Linked DNA regions of Homo sapiens: regions 2 and 3 are each linked to region 1. The links are contacts of gene promoters, found by promoter capture Hi-C in human tissues and cell types (Jung and others, 2019). All regions are on one chromosome and are shown on one strand. Each heading gives the region's core, a stretch centred on a gene start or on the middle of the fragment in contact. The rest is flanking DNA. Distances are from core to core; before and after follow the strand shown.

The links. Contacts are between HindIII fragments. The study calls those that stand out against the background at their distance.
Region 2: a fragment that was not itself captured here is called in contact with the fragment with the promoter of CHRNB3 in region 1 in 1 of the 25 tissues and cell types used here (liver).
Region 3: a fragment that was not itself captured here is called in contact with the fragment with the promoter of CHRNB3 in region 1 in 1 of the 25 tissues and cell types used here (mesenchymal stem cells).

Annotation. Positions count from the first base shown.
Region 1 is chr8:42,695,930-42,700,969 of GRCh38, reverse strand. CHRNB3 (cholinergic receptor nicotinic beta 3 subunit) reads right to left here and starts at 3,604. Exons shown (of 6, transcript NM_000749.5): 1 at 3,372-3,604. The coding sequence starts at 3,423. LOC124900250 (a long non-coding RNA gene) reads left to right here and starts at 2,079. Exons shown (of 3, transcript XR_001745887.2): 1 at 2,079-2,158; 2 at 3,470-3,644; 3 at 4,395-4,472. The HindIII fragment of the contact is 12,880 bases long and covers 1-5,040 here.
Region 2 is chr8:42,733,806-42,738,415 of GRCh38, reverse strand. CHRNB3 (cholinergic receptor nicotinic beta 3 subunit) reads right to left here. Exons shown (of 6, transcript NM_000749.5): 6 at 1,009-1,932. The coding sequence ends at 1,798. Among named protein-coding and RNA genes, the nearest start is that of CHRNA6, 33 kb to the left of the region's middle. The HindIII fragment of the contact is 8,723 bases long and covers 1-4,610 here.
Region 3 is chr8:42,756,460-42,761,152 of GRCh38, reverse strand. CHRNA6 (cholinergic receptor nicotinic alpha 6 subunit) reads left to right here. Exons shown (of 6, transcript NM_004198.3): 3 at 2,040-2,084; 4 at 4,116-4,225; 5 at 4,329-4,693. Among named protein-coding and RNA genes, the nearest start is that of CHRNA6, 10 kb to the left of the region's middle. The HindIII fragment of the contact is 3,051 bases long and covers 924-3,974 here.

The DNA of each region.
Region 1 (5,040 bases), core at 2,355-4,854:
CGTAAGCCCCACACCCGACCAGTCTCTTTATTCTTGATTCTGTTTCCTCAGTCTCTCAGACGCCCCTGCTCTCTTCCCACCTCCATATCAACATCCACTTTTAGCAAAATTTGACAAACTCACACTGAGGTACAAACAACTGATAAGACTTAACAGATAAAACTTTTCTCTCTCACAGATCTATACTAAATCCAATAACCTGTTATAAATCTCAGATCTGTATTTCTAGATCCATCAACATCTGTCCATAATTTTATGAACAGGATTTCATAAAAATCTTCAGGATTATTTATGGTTTTACTGATAATGCCATTTTTTTATCCTCAGCCAGGACAGAAAAGAAATAATTGGGCCGGGCATGGTGGCTCATGCCTGTAATCCCAGCACTTTGGGAGGCCGGAGCGGGTGGATCTCCTAAGGTCAGGAGTTTGAGACCAGCCTGGCCAACATGGTGAAACCTCATCTCTACTAAAAATAAAAAAGAATTAGGTGTGATGGTGGGCACCCGTAATCTCAGCTACTCGGGAGGCTGAGGCAGGAGAATCCCTTCAATCCAGGAGGCAAAGGTTGCAGTGAGCCAAGATTGCCACTGCACTCCAGCCTGGGTGACAGAGCGAGATTCCGTCTCAAAAAAACCACAAAAAACAAAAAACAAGGCCGGGCGCAGTGGCTCACACCTGTAATCCCAGCACTTTGGGAGGCCGAGGTGGGTGGATCACGAGGTCAGGAGATTGAGACCATCCTGGCTAACACGGTGAAACCGCATCTCTACTAAAAATACAAAAAATATTAGCTGGGCGTGGTGGTGGGCACCTGTAGTCCCAGCTCCTCTGGAGGCTGAGGTAGGAGAATGGCGTGAACCCGGGAGGCGGAGCTTGCAGTGAGCAGAGATCGCGCCACTGTACTCCAGCCTGGGCGACAGAGCGAGACTCCATCTCAAAAAAAAAAAAGAAAAGAAATTATTGAAGAATTCCAAATCTCAGCAAAGACGATTGTGAAATGTGGATTTTTTTGCTTTGATGCCTTTTGGTATATTTTGTTTCTTCCTTCCACTATTGCCGCCTCGTCAAAAAAAAAAAAAAAAAAAGCATACCACAAATATGGCAGCCTCTTCCGTCACCCATGGAGCTAGCCCTCATGGTGAAATCAAAGAATGCATATTCAATGGATTCTTGATAGCATGAGACCTTTTTCTTCTTTTTTTGAGACCGAGTTTCGCTCTTGTTGCCCAAGCTGGAGTGCAGTGGTGTGATCTCGGCTTTCTGCAACCTCTGCCTCCCAGGTTCAAGCGATTCGATTCTTCTGCCTCAGTCTCCCGAGCAGCTGGGATTACAGGCGTGTGCCACCACGCCTGGCTAATTTTTTGTATTTTTAGTAGAAACGGAGTTTCACCATGTTGGTCAGGCTGGCCTCAAACTCCTGACCTCAGGTGATCTGCCTACCTTGGCCTCCCAAAGTGTTGGGATTACAGGTGTGAGCCATGATGCCCAGCTGAGAGCTTATTAGAAAATGGCTTTGTTTTTATTTCCTCTTGCATTCCTAGACACTGGAACCATTCCTAGGATACAGTAGATGCTCAATAAGTATTTATTGAATGAATAAACACATTGTGTCTTATCATATCATCATGTTGTAAGAGAGATGGGAAGATAAATAAGATACACCTCCTGCTTTTTGAGAGCAGATAGCACACACAAAATATGAAATAGCAATATGAGAGACAACCCATGGCCACACCCAAGGCTCCTTTTTACCAAAGCCAGAAATATAAAAATGAAGGGGTTGCCTCTTGTAATTTGAAAAAAGTAGTTTTGCATAACAAAAAGAAACTATTTTGTTTACAATGAATAGTAAAGTTAAAAAATGTAAGGAAATATGGGACAGATTTAAAAATATGAGCAGATGCTGATGGATCTAGAAATACAGATGTAAGATTTATCACAGGTTATTAGATTTATTATAGATCTGTGAAAGATTACACAATCTTCCCAAACTCTTCCAGCCCACACAATGGAGACCAATGCCAGAGGCCAAGCAATTCCAGTTTTCTTATGTAATCATGATTGTACACAGAGGACGAGACTTAGCTGAACCAAGAGAGTTTATGCTAAACACCCTCGCTAACCATTGAGAGAAATCATTCCTTGGGAAAAGAGTGGTAAGAATCAATTGTCTTATAATAAATAGAATAATAAAGACAGAAAAACATCAGACACACGTACATTAATGGTAAGCTCAAACACACAGAATTTTCTTATCATTTTTGTGATTGGCAAACTGCATTCAAGACTTTGAAAAGTCCAAATTTCATGATATTTGAAAGTGAGTTTGAGGCTTTCTGCATTTAGAAATTCCTGTTTGACTTTGAGTCCTTGGTCTGAGAAAAGGCGTTTTTGACAACAGGATAATGTTCAGGTGCCTCGCAGCCTTGGGAACTTGAAATGTAGAATTTATTTCTGGATTTGGGCAAATCTCCCTTAGTGTCTCCAGTTCTCCATTTGAAAATTACAATAATCAAACGTGGCAAAAATACTACTGAGAAATTAATACAAATTGCTAGTGAACTGACACTTTTCTCACCATCTGGCTGCGGTTTCAGATGGTTTCTGATTCAATGGGGGAAAACTTTCTGTTCTCAAGTTACACAAAAAGTGAAAAGATTCCCAAACCCAGGAAATTGGCAGGTGCAAATGACCAATCCCCAAAGCCTTTCAGTACTTTATTCCCCTTTCTTTTTCTCTTTTTGTTCTTTCTCTGCATCTCTGTCTCTATCTTTCACTTTTTCCTTTTATTTGTCCTTTATCCTTATCAAAAATTCCTCTATTTTCAGTTGATAATAGTCACATAAAACACATAGAGTTTTGATACATTGGTGTTTAATTGTGATATATAAACATGCTAAATCTACCTACATACACAGATTTATTAAAATATATAGGCCTACAGGGCATATTGGACAAAATTAAATATCTACATGCAGATATAGAAATTATTGGTAAATATGATAGAAAAATGTTGATATAGTAAATTTCTGTGCCAAATATTTGAACAATTCTCTGAGTAATGCTCAGTGCATTCAATAATGTTTTTCCTGCTTTTGTATTTTCTTACCAAGCTCATAGTGATTCAGAAGGAGAAACGCAGCAAATGACAAAAACATAAACATTATGAAAATCATAGATATGATTTCTTCAGCAAAAAAAACCCCACATCTCACAGAATTACTCATTTGGGCCACATTTTAAAGGTTATCCTAAATGTATCTTGTGCATTACATATTGTAATTCTAACATTATCAACACCATAGTTTTGCCTCCTCTGCTTAAATAATTCTGCAACTGTAGTTTTAATTTACTGTGACTTGTGCTTACCTGAGGAAGGGATGCCAAGGACGATGAGAACCAGCATAAAATCTGGGAGCATCGTGATGTCAGTTTCAGAAAGACAGTTTCTTCCTTTTTAACAACAGAGCATTTCCACTGGAAAAGGGGGTTTTGAAAAGAAAATACAGGGGTTCAAAATCCGAAGTGGAACCCAAGAGGACAGCAACACCTGGAGTGGAATAAAACAATCTCAACCCCTCTCGCCGAGTGTGCCGCTTCTCAAAGTGCACTTCATTGATTTGCAGTCAGCTGTCAGATCGTGTAAGTCTAAAACATATCTCTGGGTCCTAACTCCTGACTTATTAATTTACTCCCTTGCAAGAGATGCGGGGCACTGGAGAAAGGATGAAACTAGACAACTTCTGAATGTTCTGTGCTATTTTTCTTACAGTTGGAGATCTGCGTACAGAAGAACCACACTTTACCACATCCATAGTGAAAAGTTTCTCATCCCCGTTATTTCTCTATTCTCTTTTCTTTTTCTTTTTATTCTTTTTTTTTTTTTTTTGATATGGAGTCTCACTCTGTCACCCAGGCTGGAGTGCAATGGTGCAATCTCGGCTCACTGCAACCTCCGTCTCCCAGGTTCAAGCCATTCTCCCACCTCAGCCTCCTGAGTAGCTGGGATTATAGGCACCTGCCATCATGCCCAGCTAATTTTTGTATTTTTGTAGAGACAGGGTTTCACCATGTTGGCCAGGTTGGTCTTGAACTCCTGACCTCAGGAGATCCGCCCGCCTTGGCCTCCCAAAGTGGTGGGATTACAGGCATGAACCACTGCGCCCAGCCTCTCTATTCTCTTTTCCAGTTGGACCTGAAGTCATGAGTATGTCCTGGAGCCTCCCTATTCTGCTGGTTCCCACATGTGTTAATATCAGCACATTCTCTGTGGCTCCCTTGACCCCACCAGGCCCACCTTCTGGTCACTGCAGGGGACAGTAGGGTGGGAGGTTAGTGGTGTTTTATGTATGAGACTTGGACACTAATAACACCATCCTTTCTTCTTCACAGTTGATCAGATTTCATCTAGTTCAGTGCTGTGCACACCCAGAGGGCCCTTGATAAATGCATGATACATCAAATGAATGGCAAGTACAAAGTCAGGGCTAGACAGACAAGAGGGCCAGGTGGGAGCCAAGACCTATCTGGTTGGGAACTGAGTGCTGGAGGAACCCACTCCAGGGCATGGAGGAATTCTGTCTTAGCGGCAGTGATTTAGTCCAATTTTTAAATTTCTTAATTTAACCCTCCTCTGTGTGCCATTAGTGAGTTTGAGACACCCAGAGGGTGCTCGGTAAGGAGGCATCATGTGTGGAAAAGAGGTCTAGCCCAGGACCCCGGGACCCTGAGCTCTTGAGCCCTGTCTGTTCCTCAGGGCCCCTGTCTCAGAGCCCCTCACATCACAATGTCGCTGCCCTGCCTGGCCTCCCTTCCTAGACCACCAGCTCCTGCAGGAGGGCTTGGTCTCCAGCCCTCTGGAGTCTCCTCTGTATCTCTCTGTGTCCAGGGCCTGACACCTGCAAATGCTTGAGAACGTTGTGGGAATGCAAGGAGGAAGGAAGGAGCCATGCACTGATTTCCTCCTATCCATCTCAACTGTGCTCCCAGCCTGCTGAGAATTTGTAATGGTCTCAGGAGTAAATCAGCCACCGCCAAT
Region 2 (4,610 bases), core at 806-3,305, 39 kb before region 1:
AGGTGAAGGAACAAGAGAATGTTATACAGAAAGCACAAACTAAATGGCATTAATAAGACGAAATACATCAGTGGTAACAATATGTGAAGGTGTTTCATGCTTAGATTTTTTTTTTTTTAAATGGAATCTTGTTCTGTTGCCTAGGCTGGAGTGCAGTGACGCAATCTCGGCTCATTGCAAGCTCTGCCTCCCGGGTTCAAGTGATTCTCCTGCCTCAGCCTCTCAAGTAGATGGGAGTATAGGCATGGACCTGGCTAATTTTTTGTATTTTTAGTAGAGATGGGGTTTCACTGTGTTAGCCAGGATGGTCTCGATCTCCTGACCTTGCGATCCATCCACCTTGGCCTCCCAAAGTGCTGGGATTACAGGCGTGAGCCACTACGCCCAGCCACTTAGATTTTTTTTTAAGAGACTGCGTCTTGCTCTGTCGCCCAGGCTGGAGTGCAGTGGAGCAATCATGGCTCACTGCAGCCTCCAACTACTGGGTTCAAGTGATCCTCCCATTTCAGCCTCCTGAGTAACTGAGACTGTAGGCACACATCACTAAAATTGTTAAAATTTTAATTTTTTAAATTTTTTGTAGAGACAGGGTCTTGCTGTAGAGAGCAGGCTGGTCTCAAACTCCTGGCCTCAAGCAATCCTCCTGATTTGACCTCCCAAAGTGCTAGGATTATGGGTGTGAGCCACTCCACCCAGCCTAGATTGCAAACTGCTTGCAAGAGCCATGCCTAAAAGTACTCCAGAAAGGGATTTGGATTTATAACTGGGCAGAGAGAAAAATTGCTTTAAGCTAAAATTCAGGAAGGATTGGGCAGAGGCAGCAATTTTGGAGGGCAAGAAGAACCTGAGCAGACTCCCCTCGGAGTCTTAGAGAAGGAATGATGGTGGGTGGGGGTGAAGCCCACCCAGGTGCCAGGAGACAGGGAAACAGCAGGTGGAGCCTAGGGGATAGTGTTGGTATGGATCCGATTAGACGAGGTGACATCAAAAACCATTAATCAGAGAATGTTCTGTACACTAGTTTACTAGGAAAAGATAATGGGTATTAATGAATCCACTTCTGGTAGCAAAGGGCTTTGTTTCTATTGTGAGTTATTTTGGTATGCATGACCTTAAAGGAAGTCACAGCTCACAGTGGGCTCCAGTTTCACCATCTGAAAGCCTTATCATGCTGGGAATAAACCATGAATAACACCTGCTTCGGTAGGCCAGGCAACTTGGAATCTGTGTTATTGTTAAGTGTGCAGTGCCAGCTATCCTGCCAGTGTAATCCCCAAACCCTTGTTGAGATTTGCCTGGCCCATTGCTAACAAGCATAACACGGCCCCAGTTTGCAGCTCAGACAAAACCACCAAGGAGGCCAGTGCAGGGTGGGAGATCCAGGCTCTGCCCACACAGATAGCTCGACACCGAGACTTCCTTAATTCCAGGTGAATCCCCCCTCCCCCACCACCGAGGCCTGCTGCTTCTAGGAGGTGTTCCTCCACCAAGTAGCAACAGCTTTTTGTGCACTCTGGCCACATGTGAGCTCAAGCCTGGACCTATGATCCCTCCCTGAATGTCTGGGAAAGCCAAGGCAGGGGTCTGAGGAGGCTCCACTTTCTTTAAAAGCAGCTCACTCTCATGGCAACCACAAATGAGCACATTTACCAGAGTTTCTCCCATGAGGAGATGTTCCATTTCCACAAAGACAACGCATTCGGGGTTCGTAGAACAAGCACATGCATTTGGATTCTGTCTGTGTGATAGCCAGATGTCAGGTCTAAGGTGTAATTTAGTCTTATGTCTTTTAAATTCCTAATGGTAACTATGTAGCCACATCTTCAAAGCAGGGGTAAAAATCAGAACCGAGCCTGTTACTGACACTATCAGAAAGAGCCACAGGAAGATTCGGTCAAGAACTTGAGCTACAAATTTCCAGTCTTGTACTACCTGCAAAAGAGAAAAAGATGCCTTTCACTCAAGACACTGAGCAACTGTTCTGTATTCATCTCAAGGGATTAAAAAAGAGTAACATTCAGATTTATAGCATTTACTTAAGTTTTCAAAATGCATCTAATGTCCCAACCACACTACAGGCTCAGGTTCTTTCAGGGACTTCGCTAATTGTGCCCAAAAGAAGCAGCTTGGAACACTCTCATCAGCACTGAAGAAGGAAAATAGAAACAATAGAATTCTGTATGCATATGTCAACATTCCTGATCAGAATAGGAAAAGTCTGATTTTTACATGAATAAAGAGCCACTATAGGCCAGGTGCGGTGGCTCACGCCTGTAATCCCAGCACTTTGGGAGGCCTGGGGGTGGGGGGATCACCTGAGGTCAGGAGTTCGAGACGAGCTGGCCAACATGGTGAAACTCCCTCTCTACTAAAAATACAAAAATTAGCTGGGCATGGTGGCGGGCACCTGTAATCTCAGCTACTTGGGAGGCTGAGGCAGGAGAATTGCTTGAACCCAGGAGACAGAGCATATCTTAGGAAGCCAGTATATCTTACTAGGGTGCTTCCTGATACACGTATGAAAAGAATCACAAGTTTATAATTTAAGAGTTTTTGTGGCCAAATGTCACAGGCTTTCTTTTCTTCCACTCCACCTGTGCTGCAGCTCCAGAAGGAAGGGTGCTGCCAAGGAGAAGAACCGACCAGGACAAGACAGGAATTCATGAAGGAGACAAGAAACTGAGTCCCCTTTATTAGGAAGGGGAGGTGCAGAGAGTGGGCAACAGGTCCATAAACACAAAGTCAAGGCACGACTGGCTGGGGAAGTCTGAAAGGAAGGGGAGTCCTCATCCCTCTAGAGTAAATAAATGTCCTCCGTCTTGGGGAAAAAAAAGAAATCTTTGTATTAGGTTTTTGTTTTGTTTTGTTTTGTTTTGCTTTTTTGAGACATAGTCTCACTCTGCCACCCAGGCTGCAGTGGTGCAATCTTGGCTCACTGCAACCTCCACCTCCTGGGTTTAAGTGGTTCTCCTGCCTCAGCCTCCCGAGTAACTGGGATTACAGGCACTCGTCACCATGCCCAGCTAATTTTTGTATTTTTAGTAGAGACAGGGTTTCAACGTGTTAGCCAGGCTGGTCTCGAGCTGCTGACCTCAGGTGATCCACCCGCCTCGGCCTCCCAAAGTTCTAGGATTACAGGCGTGAGCCACCACACCCGGCCTGTATTAGTGTTTTTTTGTTTGTTTGTTTGTTTTTTGAGACGGAGTCTTGCTCTGTCGCCCAGGCTGGAGTGCAGTGGCATGATCTTGGCTCACTGCAAGCTCCGTCTCCCGGGTTCACACCATTCTCCTGCCTCAGCCTCCCGAGTAGCTGGGACTACAGGCGCCGGCCACCACGCCCGGCTAATTTTTTGTATTTTTTGTAGAGACAGGGTTTCACCCTGTTAGCCAGGATGGTCTCCGTCTCCTGACCTCGTGATCCGCCCGCCTCGGCCTCCCAAAGTGCTGGGATTACAGGCGTGAGCTACCGCGCCTGGCCCTGTATTAGTGTTTTTAAAAGATGTTAAGAAACAAACAAAAAAATTCTCCCAACTTGACAGCTGAATGTTTCTTGTCTAGCAGCAGTCACTTTTCTAGTGCTTTTAAAAACAATTTTAAGTGGATGAAAAACATGACAGATTGTTAAGAGAGAGGACATATGAGGCAGTGTCTGTGAACGCAAGAGAAAATGTAGAAGGATATTTCTAAAAAAAATTCTTGGCCAGGTGCAGTGGCTCAGGCCTGTAATCCCAGCACTTTGGGAGGCCGAGGTGGGCGGATCACGAGGTCAGGAAATCGACACCATCCTGGTTAACACAGTGAAACCCTGTCTCTACTAAAAACACAAAAAATTGGCCAGGCGTGGTGGCGGGTGCCTGTAGTCCCAGCTACTCGGGAGGCTGAGGCTAGAGAATGGCACGAACCCGGAAGGTGGAGCTTGCAGTGAGCTGAGATCGAGCTATTGCACTACAGCCTCGGTGACAGAGCGAGACTCCATCTCAAAAAAAAAAAAAAAAATTCTTTCATCAGTTTGTTTACGGGATCAGGCTCTTGGCACTAATTTTCATCAATTTTAGAGTAAAATATTTGAACCCTATAAATTGAAGTTCTCATATAAATTGAAAATATGTAACTTGCTTTAGGCAACAGATCACTTTTTTTTTTTTTTTTTTTTTTTTGAGATGGAGTCTCGCTCTGTCGCCAGGCTGGAGTGGAGTGCAGTGGTGCACTCTCAGCTCACTGCAACCTCTGCCTCCCAGGTTTAAGTGATTCTCCTGCCTCAGCCTCCCAAGTAGCTGGGACTACAGGCTCCCACCACCACGCCTGGCTAATTTTTGTATTTTTAGTAGAGATCAGGTTTCACCACGTTGGCCAGGATGGTCTTGATCTGTTGACCTCGTGATCCACTCACCTTGGCCTCCCAAAGTGCTGGGATTACAGGCATGAGCCACCGTGCCTGGCCCAACAGATCACTTTTTACGCTTAATATCTGCACGTCAAATAATATTTTCATTCCACTGGGGAAGGACTGTTTAGAAGAATGGGCTGGTCACGGTGGCTCATGCCTGTAATCCCAGCACTTTGGGAGGCTGAGGCAGTGGATCACCCGAGGTCAGGAGTTCGAGACCATTC
Region 3 (4,693 bases), core at 1,200-3,699, 61 kb before region 1:
AAGCCCAGCAGGGTTTCTGTTTAGAGTTTTCCAGAAGGGGCAGCAGTGGGGATGGAGTAGGGGAGAAGAGAACTGCAGGGCAGCCACGTGGCCCAGGGGAAGCTGGTGTCTGAGTCTGACCACGACTCCCTCAGCCACCACCATGGAGCTCATTTACTCTGGAGGGTGCCTGGGTGTCTTGGGAAGCAAGGTTGGCTGAGGAAGACTTGTGAATCTGCTGCTGGCCACTGGGGACATAAACAGCCACCAGGCTGCTGGGCTGTAAGGCCACTCAAGGTGCCAGGTGTGTCTTTGGTAGTTCTCCCACTGAGAGGTGGTAGCTTAGGAACTCATTACATTTGGGATGTCACCTGGAATGGTCTTCCTCCACACAGCCCTGACTGTCTTCTGGTCATTTAAGTATCTGCTTAAACATTACCTCCTCAAAGAAGCCTTCTTTGCCCATCCCATCTAAAATAGATGTGTGTGTGTGACTGAGATCATGTGCACATGTGTGCTAGCGTGTGTGTGCATGACTGTGAGTGTGTGTGCATGAGTGTGTTTGAGTGTGTGTGCATGTGCACCAGTGTGTGAGCCTGTGTATGACTGTGTGAGTGTGCCTGAGTGTGAGTGGGTATGAGTGTGTGCATGAGCGTGTGCATGTGCATGAGTGAGTGCATGTGCATGAGTGAGTATGCACCAGTGTGTGTGTATGAGTGTGAGTGCACACGTACGAGTGTGTGTATGAGAGTATACGTATAAGAGTACGAATGTGTATGAGAATTCATGAGTGGGTATATGAGTTTGCATGATTGTGTGTTCACGAGTGTGTGTGCGCATGAGTGTGAGTGTGCATGAGTGTGTATGAGAGTACCGTGTATATGCATGTGTGTATGAATGTGTGTGCATGAGTGTGTGAGTGTGCATGAGTGTGCGTGTGTATGAGTGTGCGTGTGTGTGCATATGTGTGTGTGTGTCCACACATGGACCATTCCATCCCTCTTTATTTGTCCTCATAGGACTTAACGCTGTCTTATGTTATAGTATAGATGTATTAGTAATTTTATGTCTCCCCATCTAACAGCTAAGACACATGAAGGCAGGACCTTTTCCCAACTTCTTATTGCTGTATTCCCAATATTTATAGAGCACATAGTGGTTACTCAATAAATATTTGTGTAGTGAACGATCGAAGTGGTGGCTTCGCTGGGGGTGAGTAGCAGCTGCCAGCTGGAAACCCCATGGTGGCCAAGGCTGACTTTTTTTTTTTTTTTTTTTGAGATGGAGTCTTTGTCGCCTGGGCTGGAGTACAGTGGCACGATCTCCGCTCACTGCAACCTCCACCTCCCTGGTTCAAGCAATTCTCCTGCCTCAGCCTCCCAAGTAGCTGGGATTACAGGCGCCCGCCACCACACCTGACTATTTTTTTGTATTTTTTAGTAGAGACGGGGTTTCACCATATTGGCCAGGGTGGTCTCGAACTCCTAACCTCAGGTGATCCACCCGCCTCGGCCTCCCAGAATGCTGGGATTACAGGTGTGAGCCACCGCGCCCAGCTGGCTGAGGCTGGCATTTCAAGATAGGATCCCAGGGCAGGGGTCTCAGGACTCAGAGCCCAGAGAGCCCTGAGGCACAGTCGAGGATGGGAGGCGTTTAGGGAACAGGCAAAAACACTGTGCGGGGTTGGAATCCTCACCACTTTCTGCAGCATCTCCCTCCCTCCTACCTGCTGTCGCTCTTCTTTTCTTTCCTTCCTTTCATGGAACTAGAAACCTTTATGGGCTGCAGAGATCGGAAGCACTTCACAGAAGAGGTGAGGCTTAAATCAGCTATGAAAGAGTTTAAAGCCACATTGCCTCTCAAAATCCACAGGGCTGGAGCCAGATGTGAAAATGCGGCATTTCTGCTTGCATGCTGAATGCTTTCACACATTGCCTTGAAGTCTTCTTCTATTGGCATGAATAAGTCAGATTTGGTTCTTTTTAGTTGTAATTTTTGCTCTAAGTCTCACCTCTATGGCAAGCACATTTGAGGCTAAAAGTATTATTTCTTCTTCCCAGGATGAAGTAAACCAGATCATGGAAACCAATTTGTGGCTGCGTCACGTATGTGCCTATATCATGTGTTGGCTTAATGATGTTGAATGGATAAAACCCACAAGCACTACCTTGTTCCATCTCCAACTGGTTATAGAATATAAAATATTATCCACTAGGTCATCTCCAAAGCCTAAAGTTCAGCTCTGGTAATAGCTGACTTGATGCATGCTTCACAGGTGCAGACACTTAGTGACAAAGGTCCCTCTGACATAGAGGTTTCCATCCTTCCTGGTTGCTGCTCTCAGATCTTCCACTTTTCTGTAACTTGAGCTCCAGGGTCTGATGCTTGCCTGCTCTTTGATCCCTGCTTGACCAGGCTTGGAGAAGTCAGTAGCTGAGCTTGGGAGCATGTACATGAGATTCCCAGCAGCTGGTTTTATCAGTTATACCTTTCTTCCTTAAGAAAGTCTTGGAGGGGTGCAGTGGCTCATGCCTGTAATCCCAGCACTTTGAGAGCCCAAGGTGGGCGGATCACCTGAGGTCAGGAGTTCGAGACCAACTTGGCCAACATGGTGAAATGAAACCCTGTCTCTAATAAAGATACAAAATTAGCCCGGCGTGGTGGTGGGTGCCCGTAATCCCAGCTACTCGGGAGGCTGAGGCAGGAGAATCGCTTGAACCAGTAGGCAGAGGTTGCAGTGAGCTGAGATTGCACCACTACATTCCAGCATGGGCAACAGAGCGAGACTCTGTCTTGAAAACAAAACAAAACAAAAAAAAAACAGAAAGGAAGTCTTAATCGTTTATACAGATTTTTTTTTAATTCAAAGCTTATCATCATACCCTTGAACTTTTTGATATTAGAGCTATACTCCAGTGTGAGTATAGCTCACGGAATATGGAAGTTGAGCCTAAAACTTTAACCAGCTAACTAATAATCAATACATAATTATCTAATGAAATATTTGCCTAAATCAGCTCAGCTATTTAGCTCCCTGTTCCCCATGGATATAATTGTCCAGATTTTGATAGCAACCAATGCATTCTTCAAATAAGAATGTATTATTTTTACTTTTTTTTTTTGTTTTTTGGTTTTTTTTGAGACGGAGTCTCGCTCTGTCGCCCAGGCTGGAGTCCAGTGGCGCGATCTCGGCTCACTGCAAGCTCCGCCTCCCAGGTTCACACCATTCTCCTGCCTCAGTCTCCTGAGTAGCTGGGACTACAGGGGCCCGCCACCACGCCCGGCTAATTTTTTTTGTATTTTTAGTAGAGACGGGGTTTCACCGTGTTAGGCAGGATGGTCTCGATCTCCTGACATCGTGATCTGCACGCCTCGGCCTCCCAACGTGCTGGGATTACAGGCGTGAGCCATCGCGCCGGGCCACTTTTTTTTTTTTTTTTTGAGACAGAGTCCCGGTCCGTCGCCTAGGCTGGAGTGCAGTGGCACGATCTCGGCTCACTGCAAGCTCCGCCTCCTGGGTTCATGCCATTCTCCTGCCTCAGCCTCCGGAGTAGCTGGGACTACAGGCAACCACCACCATGCCTGGCTAATTTTTTTTTTTTTTTGTATTTTTAGTAAAAATGGGGTTTCACCGTGTTAGCCAGGATGGTCTCAATCTTCTGACCTAGTGATCCGCTCACCTCGGCCTCCCAAAGTGCTGGGATTACAGGCGTGAGCCACCACGCCTGGCCAAATGTATTCTTTTTTCAACAACAACTGTTGAACCATCATAAAGTTAACATTGGAAGAAAGTTATTAAGAAACACATTTTTTTTTTCCAGATAGAGTCACCCAGGCTGTAGTACAGTGACATGATCTCAGCTCACTGCAAACTCTGCCCCCCACGTTCAAGAGATTCTCCTGCCTCAGCCTCCCGAGTAGTTGGGACTACAGGCGCTGGCCACCACACCCGGCTAATTTTTGTATTTTTAGTAGAGACGGGGTTTCACTATGCTGGCCAGGCTGGTCTCGACCTCCTGACCTCAAGTGACCTGCCTGCCTCGGCCTCCCAAAGTGCTGGGATTACAGGCGTGAGCCACCATGCCTGGCCCGAAAGTTATTAAGAAATTTTAAAAGCTGATTTCTATTTATTTTAGATCTGGAATGATTATAAATTGCGCTGGGATCCAATGGAATATGATGGCATTGAGACTCTTCGCGTTCCTGCAGATAAGATTTGGAAGCCCGACATTGTTCTCTATAACAAGTATGGGTCTCTGACCACCGTAGCCTCTTTCCAAAGCTGCTGTTGGTGTATTCTGGCCTATAGCAAAGGGAGTGTTACTAATGGTGTCTGACTTGCTTTGCAGTGCTGTTGGTGACTTCCAAGTAGAAGGCAAAACAAAAGCTCTTCTTAAATACAATGGCATGATAACCTGGACTCCACCAGCTATTTTTAAGAGTTCCTGCCCTATGGATATCACCTTTTTCCCTTTTGATCATCAAAACTGTTCCCTAAAATTTGGTTCCTGGACGTATGACAAAGCTGAAATTGATCTTCTAATCATTGGATCAAAAGTGGATATGAATGATTTTTGGGAAAACAGTGAATGGGAAATCATTGATGCCTCTGGCTACAAACATGACATCAAATACAACTGTTGTGAAGAGATATACACAGATATAACCTATTCTTTCTACATTAGAAGATTGCCGATGTTTTACACGATTAATC